Linked DNA regions of Homo sapiens: region 2 is linked to region 1. The links are contacts of gene promoters, found by promoter capture Hi-C in human tissues and cell types (Jung and others, 2019). All regions are on one chromosome and are shown on one strand. Each heading gives the region's core, a stretch centred on a gene start or on the middle of the fragment in contact. The rest is flanking DNA. Distances are from core to core; before and after follow the strand shown. Region 1 holds the start of LGALS14 (galectin 14). Region 2 has its middle 9.1 kb from the start of LGALS16.

Evidence for each region. Contacts are between HindIII fragments. The study calls those that stand out against the background at their distance.
Region 2: a fragment that was not itself captured here is called in contact with the fragment with the promoter of LGALS14 in region 1 in 1 of the 25 tissues and cell types used here (adrenal gland).

What each region holds. Positions count from the first base shown.
Region 1 is chr19:39,703,212-39,705,911 of GRCh38, forward strand. LGALS14 (galectin 14) reads left to right here and starts at 1,270. Exons shown (of 4, transcript NM_020129.3): 1 at 1,270-1,332. The coding sequence starts at 1,318. RefSeq lists enhancers at 1,177-1,306, 1,327-1,416. The HindIII fragment of the contact is 10,211 bases long and covers 1-2,700 here.
Region 2 is chr19:39,663,585-39,666,471 of GRCh38, forward strand. No RefSeq gene overlaps it. Among named protein-coding and RNA genes, the nearest start is that of LGALS16, 9.1 kb to the left of the region's middle. The HindIII fragment of the contact is 4,209 bases long and covers 1-2,887 here.

The DNA.
Region 1 (2,700 bases), core at 20-2,519:
TTCCTCAAAGAGCTTATAACAGAACTACCATTAAACCCCGCAATCCCATTACTGGGAATGGTGTATACACTACTGTATACACAGAAGAATAGAAATTATTCTGCCTTAAAGACATATGCATATGAATGTTCATTGCAACACTGTGCACAATAGCAAAGACACAGAATGAACCCAAATGCCATCAAGGACAGATTGGATACAGATAATGTGATACATATACACAATGGAATACTATGAAGCCCTAAAAAAGAATGAGTTCATGTCTTTTGCAGGAACATGGATGGAGCTGGAGGCCATTATTTTTAGCAAACTAATGCAGGAACAGAAAACCAAATACTGCATGTTCTCACTTATAATTGTGAACTAAATGATGAGACTCATGGACACCAATAGGGGAACAACACACACAGAAGCCTACTTGAGGTTGGAGGGTGAAAGGTGAGATAGGAGCAGAGAAAATAACTATTGGGTACTACGCTTAGTACCCAGGTGAAGAAATCATATGTACCACAAACCTCATGACATGACTTTATCTGCATATGTACCCCTGAACCTATAATAAAAGTAAAAAAAAAGAAAAAAGAAAAAAAATCTCATCTTTCTCCCAGAATCTGCAGGAGAAACAATATCTCTGAAACTTTGTTTTACATGGACTCCAAGACAAAGCAGAGAATGCAGCTAGAGCCCAGGTATGTGACAGACAGATGAGAGTGACCCTCACCTGGCAGATCCAAGGGGCCTAGTGTGAGGCAGGTTCATGCAAGAACTATCTCTACTTCTCTTCCCAGATCCTCCTGAGGATCAAGGTCAAAAGGATCTGACCCTTAAAGGCCCTCCCAGAACCTTTAAAGGCAAAGAGAAGAATTACCTTCTAGGTCTAACGTCTTTTTCCAAAATTCCCAATTTTTTATTTTTAGTCATTGTACAAATTGAGGAAATGTACACCTTCTGGCTAGATTCTGCATACTGGAGAAAAAGCTTGAGAGGCACAAAGGCTGGGCTTTACAATCCCTACCCCTCACTCCATCATCCTTATCTATGCATTTCCCTGGTAACCCAATCCACAGCCTGGTACCTCCCCCACTGTCATTTCTGCTGCATTACAGACACAGACCTGCAAACATCTATGGTTGTGACAGAGTTTCTTTCTGACACCTGAGTCTTTCTCCTGCTGCACGGAAAGCTTGCTGGGAGGGGCTTGGAATCTGGCATGAAGCCAAAGGGCATCTCTGAGTTGCAGCATTTAAATGATCCCACTCAGAGATTCACACAGAAGACTGGACACAATTCCGAAGAGCTGCCCAGAAGGAGAGAACAATGTCATCACTACCCGTGAGTTGAAAAGTCACAGCCTTCAATAATCTCAAGTCACATAAACCAAGAAAGAAACAGGGGAGGTTTTCTGAGTTGAAAATATGAGCATTCCTACTGTGAATGCATTACCGAGAGTTGTGGGTGTGTAGAAGAGAAACCCTGAGGCTGTGGTATCTGAGATGATTGTGGGTGTAGGCTGTGGACCCTGGACCAGTGTAACCCTCTGTGAGGGTGTGGTGGTGTCTGATGAGAGTGAACTCTGCTGAGATTAAGTGACTTTAGGTGGGAGGTGGATGACCCACCAGGACCGGCAAGTGTGTGAGTGAGTGTAAGGGGGTGAGTGTGCTTTGTCTTCCTGTCTGTGATGTGAGTGTGTGTGGGCACAGCCAGACCAGTGCATGGTCATCTTTATGTGCACAGTGAGCAGGTGTGTGTAACTCAGTGAGTGGCATGGCTCTGTGTGACTATGGGTGTGTGTGCTGGGATGTGACTGGGTATTGAAGGGAAAACATGCACGTGGCCTTCTGTGCATGTGAAGGTTCCTCCCCACACAGCAGCACCTCTGATGAAGCACCTGTGTGTCTTTTCATGTGTGGCAATGTGGATCCCAAGTGGCTTAACTGGTGGGGATCTTGGGGATTGTGAGTTACCAAGGACTCGTTTCAGATCACTTATGAGAGCGAAATATATCATCAGTAGATATCTCTTCCCAGTAAGAGTGAGGAAAAGGAACGCAGATTATGGGAGAGATGGTTCCTCAGGTGGGGACTGCACAGAGTGATCACTGGCTTTTGCCTCCCAGGCTCAGCTTCCCTGTCGCTAGCCCAGCCTGTTCTTCCCATTGTGGAACAGGCGAGTGTGAAGATACTGATTTGCCAGGGAAGAATATTAGAGGCCGTGGTTAAAGAGACGGAATCAAACAAAATATCCACTGTAAGCTCTGTCTGAACTGAGACTAAACTTGTTCCTCCACTCATGAAAGAACAAGCTGTCTGAATTCAGACAGTGCTTACTGTGGACATTACTCAACAAAGCAGCTGGGTTCACTGGTTCATGACTATAATCCCACCAATTTGGGAGGCAAAGATGGGAGGGTAACTTGAGGCCAGAAATTTGAGACCGGTCTAGGCATCATAGTGATATGCTTTCTTTAAAAATCTTTAAATATCTGACTGGCAGAGTGGCAGACACCTTTCACCCCAGCTACACAAGAGGGGGCAGATGTGTGAGGATCACTGCAGTCCAGGAGTTCGATGTTTCAGTGAGCTGTGATTGCACCACTGCATATCAGCCTGGGTGACAGAGCAAGACCCTATCTCAAAAATACAGAAAAATCATCAACCACTTGCAGTCGTCGTAGAAATCAATCATTCCCTCCAGTTATGT
Region 2 (2,887 bases), core at 12-2,511, 40 kb before region 1:
AATAATAATTTTTTAAAAAATCAGCTGGATGTGGTGGTGCATGCCTTAGAGTCCTAGTTACTTGGGCGGCTGAGGTAGGAGGAGCTCTTGAGCCCAAGAGTTCAAGTCTGCAGTGAGCTACAATTGCACCACTGTACTCTAGCCTGGGAAACAAAGTGAGACTCTCTCTCTCTCTCTCTCTCTCTCTCTCTCTCTCTCTCTCTCTATATATATATATATATATATATATATATATATATACACATACACACACACACACACATACATACATATATATGTATGTATATATACACATATATATGTATGTATATATACACATATATATGTATGTATATATACACATATATATGTATGTATATATACACATATATATGTATGTATATATATACATACATATACATACATATATATGTGGAAAAGGGAAGGGGCCAAGAATGTCAAAGACATTATTAAAGAAAAGGAAAGATTTCTCCTGCCAAATATCAGAAGTTTTATAAAGCTACAGCAATTAAGATAGTGTGGTCTTCATTGATAAACTGACCAATGAAACAGAATAGAGAGCTCCCAAACAAATCTCCACAAATTTAATATTTGATATGTGATGCAGGTGACATGGCAGATCAGCAAAGAAAGAAAGGACTTTTCAATACATAGGAAAGAAAAATAATGGTTACTGATATAGGAAACAAAATGAAATTATATTCCTTCTTCGCTCTATATACAAACATTAAATTCCAGATGGACCAAAGACTTATGTGTCAGAAACAAAACTTTAAAACTTTTAGTAGAAAATGTAAGTGAATGAGACACAAAAAGCCATTTAACCATTAAAAAAGATTAGATGTTTTGACTATCACAAAATTGAGAACTTTTTACATCAAAAAGTGAAAAGATAAGCTGGGCATGGTGTCTCAAGCCTGTAATCCCAACAGTAGATCACCTGAGGTCAGGAGTTTGACACCAGGCTGGCCAACATGGTGAAACCCTGTCTCCACTGAAAATATAAGAAATTAGCCAGGCATTGGTGGCAGACACTAGCAATCCCAGCTACTTGGGAAGCTGATGCACGAGAATCTTCTGAACCCGGGAGGTGGAGGTTACAGTGAGCCACTGCACTCCAGCCTGAATGGCAGAGTGAGACTCTGTCTCAAAAAAAAAGTAAAAATTAAAAAATAAAAGTAAAAAAGTGAAAAGATAAACTATAAACTAGAAGAAGATATTTGCAGTACCTAAAACCTATGAAAGATTAATATCAAATCAACAAAGTATAAGGAGTTCCTATGAATTAATTTTAAAAATAGCATCCCAAAAGAAAATTGGGAAAAGACATTAATAGGGATTTCACAAAAGAGAATGCCCCCAAAACATAAAAATTTTCTCATCCTCATTAGTAATCAAGAAAATGCACAAGATACTACATATCTATTCGCTCCACAAATATTAAGAAGTTTGACAATACCAAATGTATTAGTCGACATTCACGCTGCTGATAAAGACATAACTGAGACTGGGAAGAAAAAGAGGCTTAATGGATTTATGGTTCCACATGGCCAAGGAGGCCTCAGAGTCATAGCAGTGGATGAAAGGCACTTCTTACATGGCAGTGGCAAGAGAATATGAGAAGGAAGCAAAAGACGAAACCCCTGATAAACCCATCAGATCCTGTGAGACTTATTCACTATAACAAGAATAGCATGGGAAAGACCAGCCCAAGGGATTCAACTACCTCCCCCTGGGTCCCTCCCTTAACACATGGGAATTCTGAGAGATACAATTGAAGCTGAGATGTGGGTAGGTACATAGCCAAACCATATTAATCTGCTCCTGGCCCCTCCAAATCTCATGTCCTCACATTTCAAAACCTATCATGCCTTCCCAACAGTCCCCCAAAGTCTTAACTCATTTCAGCATTAACCCAAATGTCTGCTGTCCAAAGTCTCATCTGATAAAAGGCAAGTCTCTTCTGCCTATGAGCCTGTAAAATCCAAAGCAAGCTAGTTACTTCCTAGATACAATGGGGGTACAGGTAATTGAGTAAATACAGCTGTTCCAAATGGGAGAAATTGGCCAAAACAAAGGGGTTACAGGCCCCATGCAAGTCCTAAATCCAGCCAGGTAGTCAAATTTTAAAGCCCCAAAATGATCTCCTTTGACTCCATGTTTCACATCAAGGTCATGCTGATGCAAGAGGTGGACTCCCATGGCCTTGTGTAGTTCTGCCCCTGTAGCTTTGCAGGGTATAGCCCACCTCCTGGCTGTTTTCATGGGCTGATGTTGAGTGTCTGAAGCTTTTCCAGGCTCATGGTGCAAGGTATCTGGGGTCTGGAGGACAGTGTCCCTCTTCTCACAGCTCCACTAGGAAGTGCTCCAGTAGGGACTCTGTGTAGGGGCTCTGATCCTTCCACATTTCCCTTCCACATGGCCCTAGCAGAGGTTCTCCATGAGAGCCCCACCCCTGTAGCAAACTTCTGCTTGGACATCCAGGCGTTTTCATACATCCTCTGAAATCTAGGTGGAGGTTTCCAAATCTCAATTCTTGACTTCTGTGCAGTTGCAGGCTCAACACCAGGTGGAAGCTGCCAAGGCTTGGTGCTTGCACTCTCAAAGCCATGGCCTGAGTTCTATGTTGGCCCCTTTCAGCCATGGCTGGAGTGGCTGAAACACAGAGCACCAAGGCCCTAGGCTACACACAGCACAGTGATCCTGGGCCCGGCCCACAAAACCATTTTTTCCTTGTAGGCCTCTGGGCCTGTGATGGGAGGGGCTGCTGTGATGATCTCTGACATGCCCTGTAGACACTTTCCCCATTGTCTTGGGGATTAACATTCAGCTTCTCACTACTTATGTGAATTTCTTCAGGCAGCTTGAATTTATCCTCAGAAAATGG